Linked DNA regions of Homo sapiens: all the other regions are linked to region 4. The links are contacts of gene promoters, found by promoter capture Hi-C in blood cells and fetal thymus (Javierre and others, 2016). All regions are on one chromosome and are shown on one strand. The core of a region is centred on a gene start or on the middle of the fragment in contact, and the rest is flanking DNA. Distances in the headings are between cores, read along the strand shown.

Region 1 (2,700 bases), core at 17-2,516, 1.5 Mb after region 4:
CCAGCTTTACCTATGTAACAAAGCTACGCTGGTACCCCTGAACTTAAAATAAAAGTAAAAAAAAAAAAAAGAACTTGCCATAAGCGTGTTAAAAGAGGAATAGAAATTGAGAATATGTAATACAAAAGAAAAATAGAGTCATGCCTACTGACCACATTCTGGGAGCCATCACACAAGCCAGCTCTGTTGGATTGATTAATTTTATGTAGCCACAGTGTGGCTAGAACCTTATCATGCATCTTATTATTCTTTTCACATAACCTCACGCATATCTCACCATTGAGGACAACGGTGAGAACCAGTCTTGTCTTCATTCTAGAATTAGAGTAATAGGGACAACAAAAACAACAACAAAGTCATGGAACATCTAACTGTCCTTCTATCTAAATGTCAACAAACAACTCTGATGTGTCATCCCCACCCCGCTTTACAGTGAATGTTGTCCCAATTATAGTTATGATCTTTGTATTCTGGAAAATGCCAAAGGCTGATGCGCATAAAAGAAGAGGTCCATTCCAAAGAAGGCCAGGGAAAAAGGTATCGAGAGATGAGGAGAGCCTGGAAGATAAACCTTTTGGCCCAAATATAGCTTCCCATTCAAAGAAAGAATTCTACAGCGGTCAACGCTTCCATCTCCAAGACCTATTATGAGCACATTTAACTTCTGGCCAGATTCCCAGCATTTCTGCTGTTCTTTGACTTTTCTACTGGTCCACAATGATGGAAATTCACACACAAAAGGATATGTAGAGTAAGAGTGCACAAATATGGGCATCTTCTATTCACCCATTGAAAGACAGGGTCCATTTCTGAAGGCATGCTTGCTATTTCCACCAAATAAAAGGAGTAGGAAACATAAAAGGTCTATTAGATCATCTTGTCAACTCTTTTTCTTAGTTTCGTCAACAGTCCAGGATGCTGTCAAATGAAACTCCTCACTTTAGGGCATCTCCAAGGATAAAGGCAAGGCACGCCTCTGGAATTTACATAGATTCCCAGTCTGCCAACCAGCTACAACAAGGTTCTATGATTCATGATTAGAAATGATGAAAGAAAGTAACACTGTTTATCATCACATACCACCTCCCTGTGTTTCTTTCTCCCAGAATTAATAAATGCAATGACACTGAATTCACAAAAATATTGTATTTTTAAGCTTTCATATGCAATGATTCCTTTCATTGCTATTAATAAACAAGAGGACTCCTCCAGCTGAACTCTTTCACTGTGTGTGTGTGTGTGTGTGTGTGTGTGTGTGTGTGTGTGTGTTATATCTGACAAGTTTGCTGTACTGTGCTAATGAGCCCTAACGGTTTTAACATAAGTCCTGCAGGGCTGGACTACTTGAGGCTTATTCCATCATTGAAAAAAAATGCTCAAGCTTATGGCCATACTAGACGTTCAGATAGCTTGAAGTGAAATACAGTCTGTCAATCTGTTCAGTGTCATACCTATAATCAGAATGCTGGGAATGTGCACAAGTCCTTGTGCTTTTTCTTATGAATTGGAAGACTTTTCTTTCTTAAATAAAAGGAAACAGATCATGCAGCATGTTGAGTAGAAACAGGCTGGTGCATAACAGGAGAAGAAAATCCAATGGAATAGCCACACACAGATTGCCTTTACTTCTAGGTTGGCAGGCAATGTAAGATTTGGAATTAACACCAGAAAGGAATTTCTCCCATCTCTTTCCATGGAGCTGGCTCACTGATGTTCAAGCCATGTTAATAGTCTCAGACTGCTGGCTCTGGAAAATGCTAAAGGTATCAAAAGGCACTCAGAGATTTACCAGTGAATCCAAAATATAAAAGCATTTATCCAAGTGCACCCAGTTTCCCAGTCTTCATTAATAATCAGGTAATTGAAAGTGTTCTCATCTCTAATGCCTAATGCAGTGAATTATGTGCAGTCTTGCCACCACATCTATGAGGCACGTTAAAGCCCATGGTGGGTTCTCAACCCTGGCGGCATGCTAATGTCACCCAGAGAGCTCTCACCAAATACCTACATCCAGGGCCCATCCCCAGAGATTCTGGCTTAATTGGCCTGAAGTAGAGCCAAGCCTTGGTATTTTGTATTGCTCCCCAGGAGATTCTAGTGTGCAGCCAAGATTGAAAGACTAAAATGAACAGGCTGAATCTGAAATGAATTATAGATACATTATAATAACATGTAACTCTTTATTAGAAGACTCAGAACTTTCTAGAAAAAAATTCCTCTGACTCCTCAAGACTGCTCTCACTACTTCACTTAATGTCTCCTGTGTATCTCAGAGATCAGGAGTTACTTGGCATAAAATGTGTGTGAGAGGCAGCCTTGCGTAATGGTTAAGAGCACGGTGTTTATATTCTTGGGTTTAAATCCTTACTCCTATTTAGTGGTATGATCTTGGTTGAATTACTTAGTTCTGTTCCTCTACTTTCCCTCTGTAAAATGGTAATAATAGCTCCAGTTGAAAGGATTGAATGACTCAATGTGCGTGAAACACTTACACTGTGCCTGGCCCATGGGAAGCTCTACATATGTACTGGCTATTACTATCCCTAAACTGCCATTAGCTGAAAAACAAAAATGTATGAAAATCCAAACCCAAAGTGTTTAATGCTTGAACAGCGTTCTAAACAAGAATCAGCTTTTGTTTTCCCTTTACTGTAAGTCTAGTATGCAATGACCTCTACAATTCTTAATATTCCACCCAGG
Region 2 (2,700 bases), core at 164-2,663, 1.6 Mb after region 4:
GGATAAAAACATAAAAGTACTTCCCTTTTGAAATCCTGTTTCGGGGGCTGGAGGCTCCAGAAGGTGCATAGAAGAGGGAAAAATGTGTGCCTCTAGGCAGAAAGTGAATGTGTTCACCAGCTAAGACTAAGGATATACTGAAGAAATATGCAGGTACCTGGAATGGCTAAGAAACAGGCATCAGAAGGAGACTCAGGATGGCTTTAGGAAAGAAAAGCTAAAAGTGGTTTCAAAACCAAAGGGAATCTAAGAGACACGTGTGTGACAAAGGACAGTAGCAGAAGTGGTGTGGGCAGGCCCAGGAGAAGGGAGAAGTATTCCCTGCATCCTTCTTTGGTGGCTGAATAACCAGGGGCCTCCAGGGAGGGCTGGGGGCAGAGCAAAACTCTTGGTCATAACATGCCTGTTACAAAGCCAGTTTAGTAATTCCTATTAAGTAAATTTTGTCCTATTATATTTTTTTTCCAAAAGTATTGAGTTAGGAGTGCTTACAAAGGGGAAGTCCTAAACCATATCGAGCTTGTCCTCATAACATGCCTCTTACAAAGCCAGTTTGGTAATTCCTATTAAGTAAATTTTGTCCTAATTTTTTTTTCCAAAAGTATTGAGTTAGGAGTGCTTACAAAGGGGAAGTCCTAAACCATGACAAGCTTGTCCTCCAGGGGCCTGAGGTCAGGAGGTCAGATATCCGTATCTTTTTCTTTTCCCATGTATGGCCATCACATTCCAAAAGTCAATATAATAGAGTAACAAGAGAAAATCTGAATCTTTGCCTGGAAATAATTCAGATCTCTAGTTTTTCTCCAAATTCTTAAGTTTAAATCTCTCAAACAATAAAACAATGCAATGAGTCATATGGAACCCTTTATTAAACTCTGACAAATCAAATCATCAATCCATTTTAAATTCCACACTTTTCAACTTTGAAGTAATTAAAATATTCCCTTGAGATGAAAGATTTGAAAACATAATTCAATAGGAAACTTGTGACAGAAAAAAAGGATCTGTTTTATAGATTAGGTGATTGCTGAAAACAGTTTTCTAAAATTATTGCATATGCATTTATTTGGAATTGTTGCGTCTTGGAATCACAAAGTGGGGTGGCCCAAAAAAATCTGTCTAAATGTGAAGATCAGCATTCTAAATAGCCCTACTTTGAGAGTAAATGAGATTGGCACATCAACACTCAATAACTATAACATGGATTGCAAAATACTGAAAGACAGAAAAGAAAAACCCTCTGGAAATGCTATCTTCCACCACCCTCTCCTACACATATACAGACAAGATGTTTTCCATTTTTTTTAAATACAGGAAACATTTGTGGGACAAATGTAGAATAGGAAGAATTGAATCAGGCTCCGAAGTCAGCTAAACTTGAAATAAATCAGAATTTAAGGTCACAGATACCTTTGCCCTGTTTCTTCCTGTCTGCTTGTCATTTCTCAAAGCCTAATACAAAAACTACAGCCTTCCATGACCTTTACTTCTTCTGAATTGCAATTTTATTGATTGTTGGAACCAATCATTGTTTCCTTTTATTGATAGACATTTTAATTCATATACATATATGTTTTGGAGAAAAGAAGATAAATGTCTTCAAACATTGGGTCTGGATTTCCCATATTAAAACTAGATTGACGGCTGGGCGCGGTGGCTCACGCCTGTAATCCCAGCACTTTGGGAGGCCAAGGCGGGCGGATCACGAAGTCAGGAGATTGAGACCATCCTGGCTAACACCGTGAAACCCCGTCTCTACTAAAAATACAAAAAGTTAGCCGGGCGTGGTAGTGGGCGCCTGTAGTCCCAGCTACTCAGGAGGCTGAGGCAGGAGAATGGCGTGAACTCGGGAGGCAGAGCTCGCAGTGAGCCGAGATCACACCACCGCACTCCAGCCTGGGCAACAGAGTGAGACTCCGTCACAAAAAAAAAAAAAAAAAAACACACTAGATTGACTTCTGTTATTATTCGAAAGAATTCAATTCAAATAGTAAGAGAAGATTAGATTAAATAACGCATTTTAAATGAAAGACTGTGGCTGAAATGATTGACAAGAATCAATCACATGTCAATTCATGCAGCCAGTCTGTTAAGGTGTCTCTTTGTACATGACAGAATTCCTCCCTAGCAACTATTGGGACTAAAATCAGTTTCAAGATGGCCACTGTCTTCCCCTCAAAGCTTTATTGTCAAGAGTTTGACCACAGCTCATGTGTGTACTCTACTGTTGAGATTTCATATCCCAGGGAAACCCAGATTCAATATTGAAGAAACTTTCTCAGAAAGGCAGAGTTGAACCCAGTATGTGTTATAAAACAAGCTTCCAAGCTGCCAACCTTCCCTTGGCTAAATGTTCTTACATAACTGTGGGTTTATGACTTGACACCATCTCATTCTATGCTCTCTAGACAATTGGAATAAAGCAGGGAAAATTACGTCAGACAAAACCATATGATGTACTTACTTCATATGTCATAGTGTTAAAGTAGACATCCCACTCTAAATGGACTCTTCAGAGCAGCCTGGAACATCACCACCTCCCCTTCATTATACTGTGCAGTGCACCATTATTATTAAGCCAGTTTGTTCTCTTTGCCTCCCTTCCTGTTTCCCTCCCTCCCTTTTCGTGAAGCAAAATTATACACGTAACACTTTCACAAATGTTAAAAACAGAGCTATGGGTTTTGTGATTTTTCTGGC
Region 3 (2,700 bases), core at 26-2,525, 1.7 Mb after region 4:
GATATTATCATTATGCCAATTTCACAGATGAGGAAGTTAAACCATCATTAGACTAATTCTAATTTTAAAAGCCTAGTTTGCACATTATGCACTATTTATACATGGACTTATATATTGACAGAATTAGCTACCTCCTAGGGTTTATGATATTTTCATTATTTTCTTTTCTAACATTTAGGTACATAAAGAGCCTATGTTAAGATTTTTCTAGCTATAAATAAAGCAGCTTTGTTTATATGATTGCCTTCTGTCATTTGACAGGAATGCATATAAATAGGAAACCAAGTAAATACATTTTATTAAAAATAGGAAGCAGACAAAGAAAAAGTCAAAAAGTTCAGGATGGATGCTTCTTACTGCAGGCACTGAAGGGGAGGAACTGTGGCAGTCAAAGGGTTACACAAGAACTTACAACTTCCTGAGCAGTTGAAATAATCAAAAAGAAACAGAAGCTATCCTAATAGTAACATTTATTTACTTTTACCAAAATAGTAGGTGTCTAAGATCTACAGTAAGCTACTGATTTTTGCATTTACTCTACTGATTTCCTTGTAATAAACAGAAAACTGATCAAAGGCAGCCTTCTCAAATTACTTATATTTATTACAAGATTATTCTACCATAACAAACAAATCTCCAAAATAGAAAAATTTGATTTTTGTGGACCAAATGTTGTTATTTATACACATTCATTCTCCTCGACAGGCATATTCCTTTAGGGTAGAGGTAAAAGCCCTTAGGTGAGTGCCTATCATGGTCCATTAATGTCTTAGGCCATTTGGGCTGCTATAACAAAGTACCATAAACTAAGTGGCTTATAAACAACATAAATTTATTTCTCAAAGTTCTGGAGGCTATGAAACATAAAGCCTTCTGTTGCCAGCAGATTCAGTGTTTGATGAAGGCTGAATTTCTGGCTCATACACAGTAATATGGTTTTGTTCTCTGTCCCCCCAAAATCTCATCTCAAATTGTAATCCTATGCCAAGGAAGGGAACTGGTGGGAAGTGATTGGATCATAGGGGCAGTTTCCCCACGCTGTTCTCATGATTGTGAGTTCTCACAAGATCTGATTGTTTAAAAGTATTTAGCAGCTCCTCTATCACTCACTCTCTCTCCTGCTGCCTTGTGAAGAAGGTGCCGGCTTCCCCTTCACCTTCTGCCATGATTGTAAGTTTCCTGAGGCTTCCCCAGCCATGCGGAAATGTGAGTCAAACCTCTTTTGTTTATAAATTACCCAGTCTCAGGTAGTTCTTTATAGCAATGTGAAAATAGACTAACACACACAGCATCTTCTTACTGTGTCTTCACCTGGTTAAAAGGGTGAGGGGTCTGTCTCAGACCTCTTTTATAAGGGCATTGATCCCATTCATAAAAGCTATGTACCCATGACCTAATCACCTCCCACAGCGCCCCCCCTCCTCCCAGTCCTAATATCATCACCTTGGGGATTAGGATTTCAACATATAAATTTGGGGGAACAAACATTGAGACCACAGCAGATAGCAGTGTCTTGGGGGGATAATGACTTGGGGCCCTTTTTACCATATATCAAATGGATGCTTTCTCCCTGGTAGCTTCCTAGGCCATTGCTCTAGATTGAATCCAATAAGAAATCTCTCATGAGAGCAAATTCCAAAAAGCAGACCTTCCGGAAGGAGGACAGAAGAGAGAGAGCATACCTGTGCATGTTTCAGTGGGAGCAATTGCCATGGAGTGTAAGAAAAAAGAGATCTTATACCCCTGTATTCTGATTAGTTCCTCCAGGAATTTTTCTGTTCACATCCTTGATAAGATGGCTTGCACACAAATTATAAAACAACAACATATTGTTTGTAGATATGATTAGTGCCTATGTTGGTTCTATTATCCTACCAAAACTAGCCTTTATAGTCATGCAAATAAGGTATCCCTAATATACTGATGTTAATAAATTTAGTGGTGTTGATTAGTGGTATGGCCAGAAGTGGACTTAGAATCATAATTCATGCATTCAAACACTCGGCAATTTTGCAGTGAAACACTATGTTGCAGTAAAAGGCATCATTTTTGAGATCAGAGAGTCCTAGACTTAAATACAGCCTTTGATATTTATAAGATACATCAAAATAATTAACCTCTTTGCATCTTATTTTCCATCCATTTAAACCAATAATAGTAATATTTTCCCTGAAATACTATTTTGAGAATTAGAGATAAGTGCTACAAAATTCATGATGCTCACATTTGGAACATAATAAAAAATTATTAAAATTATTGTAAAAGAAAAAATACAACAGAGAAAACCAAAACACAAATGGATTTAAATGATTAACAAAAACCGATAAATGACTAAAAAGATTCTTTTAAAAAGGAAGGACACATTAATAACCAATTACCAATATCAGAAATAAATGTGACAATATCACTATATATCTTACATACATCCAAAGGCTAATAAGAAAATATTTTCAGCAAATTTATACCAATAAATTTGATAATTGAAACAAAAATTTTCTTGAAATAACACAATTCCCCAAAAGTGACACAAAAAGAGACAATGTGAATAGCATTAAAAAAATTGAGGTCATAATCTAAAACTTTTCCACAATGGCACAAGAAAGCTTCAAATCAAGATGGCTTCACTGATGGATTCTATCAAACATTTACAATCAGTTTTATATAAACTCAGAATATAGGAAATAAGGGACTACTTCCCAA
Region 4 (2,700 bases), core at 35-2,534:
GATCCTGCCTGCCAGCAGGAGTCTACCCTGAAGTCGCGTGGGATAGATAAAGTGAGGAGAGGAGGATGAATGGACAGACAAACGAGAGCAATTCTTCTACCTGTGGGCTGTCCTACGCCTTGCAGTGCCGGGTCCTGCGGCGACCACTGAGCCCCTTCGTCCTCGCCCTCAGTCCCTTCGTCCTCGTCTTCGGTCTCCGCTTTCCCAGTCGGCCGGGGCTCGTCGTCCACGACCCCGCACGTGCCGCCGACGTCGCCCTGCCGATTCCGCCGCAGGAGGTGGAACTGTAGTGGTGCCGGCGGCTTCTCCCCTGGGGCGGCGGTGGCGAGGCGCTCGCTGGCGGCGGGCAGCGGCTGGATGAAATACGCCTCCCCCAGCAGGTAGAAGGCGCCGCGCACGCCCTCGCAGAGGCTGAGGGCGGCAGCCGAGCTGGGATCGCCATTCACGGTGCCGGAGTAGAAGCAGTGCGCCAGGTCGGTTTCCGGAAGCGGCGTCTCGGACCCGGATTTGCGCCCCACGTTCTGGAGCGTGAAGCCGGGCGCCAAAAAGCTGCTGTCGGGCCGCAGCTCCAGATCCAGCTGCTGGTCAAAGGCGTGCAGGCGGAGGCGCGTGGTCCCGTGTCCCGGGGCGCGCTCCAGCTCCGGCACCACTAGCTCCTCGTCCTCCTCGGAGGGGCGCCCGAGTGCGTCCGACACGGCCAGTAGCGCCGCGGCGAGCAGCAGCAGCGTGGGTACTGGCCCAAAGCTCCGAGACCCCGGAGCCCGCTCCGCGTTCCCCATGTCGCTGCCCAGCTTGCGCCTTCCGAACCCCTCGGGCACAGCTCGCTGCATTGGAGCCCCAGGAGACACCGCTCGTAGCAGCGCACGGAGCGAGGGACCTTTAGTTCGGGTCGGGAGAGCAAAGCCTCGTTGGCCTGCTCTGGATTGTTAAAATTAACAATTTCTATTATTCGTTGGAAGGGCGCGCAGAGCCGGCTACAGCCGAAGCTCCCGGAGTCACTAAAAGGAGGCGCTGCAGTTCTGCCGGCGCGCGGGAAGTTTTTCTTCCAGCGCAAAGTTGGAGACACTGAGAGGCAGGCGCAGGCAGAGTGGCTCTGCTGGGACAAGAAGCGCTCTGGGGCGCCTCCGGGGCTGAGGCAACGCGGAGATTGGTGCCTGGCGCCCCTCTTCGGCCTCCGCCTTGGCTGCGATGTTGCTCACTCTGCTCAGGGCTCTCCCCTCTCCGTCCGGTAGCGCACCCTGGCTTTGCAATAGCCCCTGGCTCGGAGCCGCTTTCCAGCGAGTGCAAGAACCGGGCAGCCGAGCGGTCCTTTTATAGTGGACCAGTGAAACCCCCACCCCCACCCCACTCCTCCCCTTTGGCCCTTTTCCATCCCAAAGACGCCGCCCCCGGCTCCGTTGGTGCTAAACCGCGCTCCGCGCTGCGGGCTCGGGAGGGGGAGGGGGCAGCCTCCGCGCTGGCTCCACGCCACTGCTCGTCAATCTAGGGGCGGAAGGGGCGCTGTGACCAGCACTTTGTACTGCTGGGGCCGCTCCAGGGAGAAGACTCTCCCTTCCACCGCTTTTCTCCCTCGCCGGTTTCCTGGACCACCCTTCCTCCCCACCGCCCGGTTGCGGTAACTCAGTTACCGCGCTGGGCTGCGGTTCCCAGGAGGGAGGGTTCGGTTGGAGAACGCAGTCCCTTCTTCAACATTTCCCTATCCTGGAGCTGCCCTGGGTCTCCTTCCCTCCTCCCTCAGTTCCCTCTTCCCCAATCTAGGAGATGAGCTAGGGCTACACTTTCTAGAAAAATACCTCACCCCACTTCTCCACCTTCCCAGCCTGCCAGGAGCTCCTTAGCCGCCGCCTGCTCTCTCTTCGCCCCAGCTTTTCTAGGGAAAGCTTGGCCCTGCGCTTCCCCCAGAAAGCATGCCTGGGTGAGGGGCCAGGTGACACTTCCTACGATCTGGATTTTAAAATATGTTTGCTTATGCCTTCACCCTCCACCAACCCCCACCCCGCACGCCACCTCTTCACCAGAGACGACTTTGTGAGGGCCCGGTTTCACATTTCTGGAATGGGTGATCTGGGACGCGGCTCAATTCCCTAGAGCATAAGGAGGGAATTGCGCTTTTTCTTCTTCATTCGAGAAATGATCGGCTCCCGCCAGTCTGCGTGCTTTCACTCAACAGCAGCTGCAAGCCCTAGGCCAGCGTCGCAGAAACGGCCAGGAACCCCACTTTCCTACCCGGGGGCCAGCAGCGATCGCTGGGGCTAGCAAGCGTGCAGAGGGGGAAAGAAGGAAATCGGCTTCCTTCCCGGACCCCTCCTTCCTCTTCCTACCAGGAAGGGAAAAGGCTATATCCGCGTTACGAAAGCGAGGAGAGGTCCACCAACAGGTCCTTAGGAAAAAAAACTGAGTGGCTCTTCTCTCCAAAAAGTGGGAGGGGCTCAAGGACCCAGAGGAAGGACGTGTTTCACAGGCGGAAAGCCGCGGGGACAATGGCGAGAGCGACCGCCCTAGCCCCGGGCGGACCCGCAACCCTCACACTCGCGCGCCCCCGCGTTAGTGCTCGAACTGGTCTCCGCCTTTCCGCCCCACTCCCGTCCGGTCTCTTGGTTGGCTCCAAGTAGATCTGGGTCCTTTCCTCGCTCCTCCCCAGATCTTCCCCACTTCAGTTGGCCCCAGCCAGAAGCGTCCCTTCTAGTTCTCCCACACGTC
Region 5 (2,829 bases), core at 177-2,676, 1.8 Mb after region 4:
GAAGCTTTATCTCATTAAAAATTATTTTGAGAACTCCAAGCAGAGAGTTGGTCTTTGCTTAGATCTGACTTCCCAAATACATCACTTTTCCTTTTCTCACGGGGATCCAGCTGATTTGGAAGGAGACTGGGAAGTGTGCAAGGGGGGAATCCTATGGAACTGAGCTTGGGAAGCAGGTATTTGCTGGCAGGGATGCTCTCCTCCTTTGCTGAGAGGCTGTGGTCCACAGCCCTTGCCAAATCTGTCGCAGTAGCTAACAGTACATTTCCATGTATGTACTATTTTCTCCCAATTTTCCCCAAGGAAAGGGCGAGTCAGGATATGCACGCATAGCACAGGACAAAAATAGCCTTGTTTAAGTAGATAAGTAGCTATTAAGTGAAGTTCCTTGACTTTGTCTATTCTGAGCACCAGTATTTGCACTAGTCAGGCAGCATCCCCCTAGGTCAACTACCTGTGTATTCTTGTACTCTCTACTGAAAGACAGTATGCACAGGGCTTATGAAAACAGACATTAGAAATAGGATTTGAGTCCTTGGGGTAGTTGTGTGACTTACTGGTTATATGAACTTAGACAATTTACCGAACCTCTCTGAGCTTAAATTTGCTCATTTATAAAATGGGGTAATACAAGTTTGTAACTTATAGACGTATTATAAGGATAAAATTAATTAATATACTGCATATAAAGTTTCTAGCTCAGTGACTGACACATATTACGTGCTATGTGATGCATATGTTAAGTGCTTGTGAAGGTTAGCTGTTACTATTACACCAGGTATTCTTGAACATTTCTTTAACTCAGAGTTAAAGCCAGGAAAGACATGTGTTACATTTAGTTTAAAGGATAAAAAACAATATAGCATAGACTTGGGAGTCTGGTAGTTTATCACGCAGGTAAATGCTATAGCAGTTAAAAGTCAGCAAAGTTCAAAATTAACTCTGAATGATCTATGATCTATGTGTTTAATGTCCTCATCTTTTTTTTTTTTTTTCTTTAGATGGAGTTTCGCTCTTTCTCCCAGGCTGGCATGCAGTAGTGCCATCTCGGCTCACTGCAACCTCCACCTTCCGGTTTCAAGTGATTCTCCTGCCTGAGCCTCCCAAGCTAGCTGGCATTACGGGTGCCTGCCACCACACCCAGCTAATTTTTGTATTTTTTAGTAAAGACAGGGTTTCACCATGTTGGCCAGGCTGGTCTCCACCTCCTGACCTCGTGATCTGCCCACCTCGGACTCCCAAAGTGCTGGGATTACAGGTATCCTCATCTATTAAGTAATAATCAAGTCTTCCTCATGAGATTTTAATGGCACTTAAATCAAAGGAAGTAAAACATCAAGCCCACAAGGATTAAGTGTACAATTAATGTTAGTCATCATTACCACTAAAAATTAACATGAGCTTAAATATATACAAACTATAGAATATAGGCAGCAGGCTCCATTCATTTAAAAACTACTGATACTACACTACTGTGTACCAAGCATGGTTCTACACATCTTATTTAAAAATAACTCATTTATTTAATCCTCATAATAGCTCCAGGAGGTAGGTACTATATCACCTAGCCCTATTTTAAATATGAGGAAACAGTGGCCACTCCATTACTAAGTTGCAGACTCATGATTCACTCCCAGGCTCCCAAGACAATGCTCTTTCAGTGCTGTCTAATAGAACTTTCTACAATAATGGAACTGATTTGTCTGTGCTGCCCAGTATGCTAGGCCCTGGGCACGTGTAGTAATTGAGCCCTTAAAATGTGGTAAATATGCTTGAGGAATAGAATATTTTATTTCATCTCATTTTAATTAATTTAAATTTAAATAGCCACAGGTGGCTGGTGGCTATTGGACAACACATGCATAGACCACCCCGTTGCATTGCTTTATTAAAGGGCCAGTTCCACTGAAGAAACTAGTAGAGACCCTTATCCACACTGTGCTTGTTCCACACTTGCCTACAGTGGTTGTAGTTCCTTCATTCGGGACCTTTATTACTATCTTCTTTAAAAATAAGTTGCCTTTTTTGGTACATTGAGTATCTTCAGTACAAGGAAATTTTGCCTTCAAAATACCCCACTAATAATGGTTCATCCTGTAACTTTTTATCCCTTTTGCCTACTTGTTGTACTTGCTTGATGCCAGACACTATTCTCTAGCCACAGGTTACATGCAGCTTTCCGCACATGGCCACCCCATGTTCTCCAGTTAGGACACGGGTTCTATTTTGCCCTCTTTTGTAGAGCTAGCAACTGCTTTATTGTTGTCTGAGCTGAAAATGGAGCCTTGATGGACAAAAACAGACATCTTATCACTTTTTAACGTAAAACCATCAAACTTGGCTTTCCGTTGATCCACCAAATTATGCTTTTACTTTTGCCTCCATTTCATAAAATTAACTACCCTAAGCATGCCTGTCTAATTGCAAATTTCCATTCCCTCATGTCCAACCTCTGCCTCCCACTGCACCACTGTAATTTGCCAAGTGAAACCTGCCCAAGTTCAGAGAGACTCAGGCAAACAAAACTCACGAAAAGGAGTACTTTTTTGTCCGGAGTTAAATCAATATTGCAATGAAGAAAATAATCTCCTTAGAATGACAGTACATGCATCTTGCTTCCCATTCCCATTTTATGTAATTATCTGTGCTGTGATGCTCGATCCAAACAAGTGCTGTCTCATTTGTAATCAGGGCAGAGAGTACGACTCCATCACTTTTACCCGAGTCCCTCATACAGCATTGCTTGTGATCAGAATTTTCAAAACTGCATTTCCAAAATCACAACTGGGATCATTTTTGCTTAGAAGCCACGTGACAGAAGCCTCACAG
Region 6 (2,700 bases), core at 200-2,699, 1.6 Mb after region 4:
TGCTCCTCTTCCTTCTGTTTTAAGAGTTGATTTTGGAGGTTTAGTCTCCTGTTTCTTTCAGGTTGTGAATACTTTAAAAAGACAGTCACTATTTATCTCTTTCCTCTGCTTCCAATGCCCAGCATAATTTGTAACCCACCACACTTAATCAAAACCTCCTTGTTCAATGAAAACATGAATAAAGCAAGCCAGGCAGTTGCCAGGTCTGCCTCTCTGGTGAGTTCTCTAGTCTTAGGTGTGTAACTGATTCCTTGGCATGTCCATCTCCACTCATCTCAAATCCAGTACTTTCAATACTTGAAACAATACCTCAGTTTACAATGGAGATCTCCCAATTTAAAGCTTATTCTCTAAGAATTTCCCATTGAAACCAGGATTTTCTCCTCTGTTAGACTGTAAGCTTCTTACGTGACTATTGCATTTCCCCTAGAACTAAATAATTCTTAACCCATGTATGTGCATAAGTTTGGACTAAATGAAAGGTTAAATAGTAAATACAAATACTGGAAATGTAACTTGGAGCCAGTTGGTAGGAAACTAAAACCAAATGTTGGCTCTGCCTAGAAGACTTTCTACTTGGTCTTTGTCAAAATCCTTCTCCAGTGTCAATTCCTCCGTTAAACTCTTCCTCAGGTTCCACTTCGCAGATGGTACTTGGGAGATCTGTTATTACAGTGGTTTTGAATGTGCTTTTGCCCACTCCTTCCCCCCACCATCTCCCAACAGTAAGGTAGCTGAGGTCACAACTTCCTATTGCTTTTAGAAAAATACCTTGCCCAGACTGGACATTTGTAGCTATTTGGCTGAACTGAGGCACCAAGAGCTGGGACCCACAGACTTCATCAGAGGTGTTAAGAGTTCAAGAGAAGTGATCGGGTACGCAGAGAGCTAGTCAGCAATAGAGAAGCCCCAAAAAGCTGACAGCTTATTTCACAAGTCTTTGCCCCTTTCAGAAAAGGAAAAGACAGCTCTGGAATGTTCTAAGTGACCATTTCTTTTCACAGGAACCCTCACCATTATCCACTCCAAAAGGGCCAGATAAAAAGCTGGACTCTGCCAAGCACCCTCAAATCCAGTTACATGACTAAACCGTTAAACAGACATCCTGATTCAAAGGCCCGGGGTAACTTGCCCTAGCATTTCCTATGAGAACATGTCTGTTTAATAACAATGTAATAACAGATAATAAGGACACCAATCACAGAGAGAGCTGGTTCGGCCCAAGTTAAAAGTTGATGATAATTACTAGACTAAACAAATTATTAAAAATATGTCTCTATCTTCAATCTGAATTTTTAAATACTTAAGAATAACTTGGGAACTGAGGTTCAATTTAGTAAGCATCATTATAACTAATACCAAATGGTTTAGCTACAATTGTACTTTGAAAAGTTTTGGGAATTTTATTTTATTTTTTTTTTGGCATGTCAGGGCAGATGAAATTTCAAAAGAATACATACTTCATTCCTTCTGAAGTGACCCTTAATTATTTGGGGAGGAAAATGAGATGAAGCCTATGTGTCAACATATGCTAGACACCCTTAGTCTGTACATATGTGGACACATTTCAGACATCATAGGTGGAAAATGATTTTAAATGTTTTAAAGTACTTTTTCATTTGAGAAGCAAGGGTAACCAAATATTTACTGTCAAAAGAAAAAGAAAATTGACCTACTCCTCTTCTTCATATCTAAAAATATGTTCATTATGAACACATTTGGGTTCTCTACTATAGGGAACAAATTTCCTAGATCTGAGTAACAGTAATTTGTATTAAATCTGTCCATCAAAGAAATCGGTATTCCAACTCCCCTAAAAGGTGGTGGGGAGTAAAATTAAATACAAAAGTTTTCAAAAAATTGGGTGGTATTTTTTATCATCAAAGAGCTATGAAATAACTTTTTTTCATTAAGAATATTTCACTTTGAGACTTTTATTTCTGCCCTTTCCATAACATGTATAATGTTTTTCCTAATGTCATTTTTCCTGGCCGAGAAGCACGTTAACAAAAATAGAGATTTTTTTTTTAAGTGGAGGTGGAGAGAACAGGAGTGTTATGTCACAAGTGACTTCAAATGGAAGAAAAATACCAATTCCACATTTTATTCTGAAGAGAGAATGGAAATTTAAAGATAATGTTCACTAACTTTCCCTGTGTGCCCATAGTCAACCAAAGATTTCTGTGTCTGCTTAACCCAGCATTGATCCAACTAATAAATTGTTCCTTTATAGAAAATAATCTCTGTCCCAACACAAGAGGAAGCAGTGTGAATTCTTTATTTTTAGCTAGGCTGCATATCATGAATCCTTGCCATGTTGAGGAATTGTGCTACTGATTCTTTCTACTAAAGACCATTTGGGGCATTTGAATTAAGTAACCTGCTCTTCATGCTGACTAATACGGATAGATTCTTACCATTTTCCAGTACTTCATGTAAATATTTCCAACTCCTATCAAATAAAACTAGTATTTCTTGACTCTTTTAATATACTTCAAGAAGCTTTTATGTTTGTTTTGGAATGTTTTAATTTTCACTTTATTGATTTTTAGCTAAAATGTTACCCTTTTACTCTACAAGTTAATTTTGAGTGGAGTGAGAAAAACCCATGTTTCAAAACCAGATGAGATTATCCCTGTGTGATGTTGCACTTATGCACTCTTTGCAGTTAGCAAATATAAATAAAATGCACAGGAATAG
Region 7 (2,808 bases), core at 303-2,802, 1.5 Mb after region 4:
ACTTTGCCCATGAAAAGTTCAAAATGGTAGAGATGGAGTTGAATCTAGGCTTATCACAACCCCAATGCCTGTTCTGTCTTTCAGCTACATGAGTTGGGATGTTTTATGATCCCCTCTGACCATTATAGTTACTTCTTAATAGGTTTTCTGATTTTCTAGCACCTTATCTCCATTCCTAAGCTTTTTTGTGGATAAGAATCACTTCCAGAGTATTGCCCTCCCCAGACAAACCAATAGTGTACACAATCTGCACATTTAATAAGCATCCTCAAGTGATTCTGATGCAAGTAGGCTGTGAATCTACAATGTAAAAGGTTAACAACGTAAACAATTTACATGCAACAATGTAAAAGGTTACAATGTAAAAGGATAACAATGTAAAAGGTTTGCTCTACTATAGTCTATGTGTGGTGTCACATTAATCCTCTAAAAGGAAAACTAACTCATGCTGCTTGCTTGATTAATAATTGATAAGTACTTAGAGTCTCCTATGACATGTCCTAGACCTACTTTTCAAGCCAGACTGTCTAAACCAATCTTACTATTTTTGTCTGTATTCCTAAATAATACCTTTTCCATCCACATAAATTTGAAGCTCCCCTTCCACACTCTTAGATGCCCTCTTCCAGATTCCTTACCTCCATGTTACTAAATAAAATCCTAACTATTTTTAAAGGCACAATTTTAAAAATCCATGTTTACTCTAGTTAGAAATAGGGTTTCTCATTTAACTAGTTGCATACACTAGATATTATCTTATCTTGAGTTATCATATCTTGAGTTACATTTTATGTGAGTATACATTTCTTATCACCCAACAGGGTACTACCTTCATGTTTCTTTGCATTTTCCACAGCAGTTTCCATAGCATAAGTATACATCAGAGATGGGCCATCGGTGTTTGCTAATTTAATAAATAAGGTCACCCATTAAGCCATATAAAGATCTTACTTCCACTAGGGAATTGAGGAGGCAAATTGAATATTGAAAAGGAGCTTTAAAAATGTCATCTACTTCACCATAAGATTTCACACAGCACTCAACCGTATAGACACAAATGTATTGGGGAAAAATTGCCTGTCTTCTGTAAACTAAAATCAAAGTCATAACAAAATTTTCTTACACATTTTCTCCCAAGCTTGATTATTGCAAGTAAACAATTAACTCAAGTAAAATTATTAGAGATGGTACTTTCCAAACCTTTCTTATTACAATCCCATTCAAGACCAAGGGGTATAAACTGAATCAGAAAAAGATGTAGGTGTACAATAAATTATTGTTAATCATACTCACCCTATTCTGCTACCAAATACTAGATGTTATTCATTCTATTAATACAAACCTGTAGTTTTGTACCCATTAACCATCTTCACTTTATCACCCTTTCCCAGCTACCATTCCCAGGCTGTGGTAACCTTTATTCTGTTCTCTATCTCCATGAGTCCAATTTATTTTTTAGCTCCAAGAAATGATAAATACTTAAGGTGATGGATACTCAAGTTACCCTGTTCTGATCACTACACATTGTATGTCTGTATCAAAACATCACTTGTACTCCATAAATATGTACAACTATTATGTACCCATAGCAATTAAAAATATATTTAAAAATTACAGGAAGAACAAACAGTACAGCAGTAGAACTATAATAGCCAGATGTATCAATGACAAACAATAAAACATCTGAAAACAAACAAAATAGAAATGTGGGCACAGTGAAGACAAAAGCAATAACTGAAAGTAAGTGGTTACAATCAAAATAGAAACACACAGCTGGCAAATTAGTTTTGCAGAAGAGTTTAAGTTTTCCTATTTCCTTGGCAACTGAAGAAGGTTGTGATGTTAACTGCTTAGACATCTGCATCCTCAGAACCATCTCCTCCTTTAGAAACTAGAATAAATACCAAAGTAATACTACGGGCCAGAATATACTACTCCTTAACAAAACCAAATGAAAGTAATGAAATAAAGCTTTTAATATGTGAATTATCTTTGGTTTAATGCCTGAGAGGGATTAATTATTTTTTGTTTTCTTTGTTTTCTTTAGAGAAAAGTGAACGTCCATGTAATGGCAGGAATTTCCTGAGGTTGCTACATTCTAAGTGTTTTGGACCCTCGAGCTAATCATTACAAACTATCCCTACACTCTTAGGAGATCTTTATTATTATTCTTTTTAGGTTAAAGTTGGCACTTGATTATAGACCCAGTTTGCTCATAGCCTGTAGAACATGGGCATGAATACCAAGAAACAGCCAAAGGCAAGCCAGATTTCAATCACAGAAGACTCTTATTTCCCACATTAGAATAAATTTAAACTGACAAAGGACAAAAGTCAACGATATAAAGTCAAAACTAAAAATACAAAGGATTTGGTATACAATTCAACATTCTAGAAATGTCAGTTCTTTTACCTAGGTTTTGTGTGTGTGTGTGTGTGTGTGTGTGTGTGTGTGAATCTCTAAAAACAGATGGTTATGTCTTAGTAGTCACAGTACTCAGTCTGCCATCTTGCCAGTATGTACCTGATCTGATTTAAAAGTGCAGGGACTTTTTTCCCCCAAATATCAAGCTTTGTTGTGATAATGTCAGAATTATTCATACTTGGTTAGGTACATAGGTACAGGTACAGGAAGCCACATATAAGAATCACCCAATTATTTACTGAATTTCATTTTTTGTTGTTATATGTGATATAAAACTTATGTGAAAGAAAAGATAGAGATTAATAGAATAAATTATCTTTAAGGGCATAATGCTATAGCTGTTTTTTAAAGAGCAGCTCAATCTCCTCTCCTCTCTTCTCCTTT

Evidence for each region. Contacts are between HindIII fragments. The CHiCAGO score rates a contact against its expected background, and 5 or more counts as called.
Region 1: a fragment that was not itself captured here is called in contact with the fragment with the promoter of ADAMTS1 in region 4 in 4 of 17 cell types (M0 macrophages, M1 macrophages, M2 macrophages and 1 more); the score reaches 11.3 in M0 macrophages.
Region 2: a contact is called between a fragment that was not itself captured here and the fragment with the promoter of ADAMTS1 in region 4, in 1 of 17 cell types (erythroblasts). The highest score is 6.0, in erythroblasts.
Region 3: a contact is called between a fragment that was not itself captured here and the fragment with the promoter of ADAMTS1 in region 4, in 1 of 17 cell types (erythroblasts). The highest score is 5.1, in erythroblasts.
Region 5: a fragment that was not itself captured here is called in contact with the fragment with the promoter of ADAMTS1 in region 4 in 3 of 17 cell types (endothelial precursors, megakaryocytes and total B cells); the score reaches 16.4 in endothelial precursors.
Region 6: a fragment that was not itself captured here is called in contact with the fragment with the promoter of ADAMTS1 in region 4 in 2 of 17 cell types (M1 macrophages and erythroblasts); the score reaches 6.2 in M1 macrophages.
Region 7: a contact is called between a fragment that was not itself captured here and the fragment with the promoter of ADAMTS1 in region 4, in 1 of 17 cell types (M0 macrophages). The highest score is 5.1, in M0 macrophages.

The regions. Positions count from the first base shown.
Region 1 is chr21:28,355,645-28,358,344 of GRCh38, forward strand. No RefSeq gene overlaps it. Among named protein-coding and RNA genes, the nearest start is that of LINC01695, 130 kb to the left of the region's middle. The HindIII fragment of the contact is 225 bases long and covers 1,155-1,379 here.
Region 2 is chr21:28,483,128-28,485,827 of GRCh38, forward strand. No RefSeq gene overlaps it. Among named protein-coding and RNA genes, the nearest start is that of LINC00161, 55 kb to the right of the region's middle. The HindIII fragment of the contact is 1,531 bases long and covers 649-2,179 here.
Region 3 is chr21:28,550,298-28,552,997 of GRCh38, forward strand. No RefSeq gene overlaps it. Among named protein-coding and RNA genes, the nearest start is that of LINC00161, 12 kb to the left of the region's middle. The HindIII fragment of the contact is 2,651 bases long and covers 1-2,601 here.
Region 4 is chr21:26,844,125-26,846,824 of GRCh38, forward strand. It overlaps ADAMTS1 (ADAM metallopeptidase with thrombospondin type 1 motif 1), which reads right to left and starts at 1,285. Exons shown (of 9, transcript NM_006988.5): 1 at 101-1,285. The coding sequence starts at 830. RefSeq lists enhancers at 1,469-2,069, 2,070-2,669. The HindIII fragment of the contact is 3,865 bases long and covers 1-1,878 here.
Region 5 is chr21:28,634,122-28,636,950 of GRCh38, forward strand. It overlaps a transcript of HEMK2 not described here. Among named protein-coding and RNA genes, the nearest start is that of LINC00161, 96 kb to the left of the region's middle. The HindIII fragment of the contact is 2,848 bases long and covers 3-2,829 here.
Region 6 is chr21:28,411,264-28,413,963 of GRCh38, forward strand. No RefSeq gene overlaps it. Among named protein-coding and RNA genes, the nearest start is that of LINC00161, 130 kb to the right of the region's middle. The HindIII fragment of the contact is 2,102 bases long and covers 399-2,500 here.
Region 7 is chr21:28,385,587-28,388,394 of GRCh38, forward strand. No RefSeq gene overlaps it. Among named protein-coding and RNA genes, the nearest start is that of LINC00161, 150 kb to the right of the region's middle. The HindIII fragment of the contact is 833 bases long and covers 1,137-1,969 here.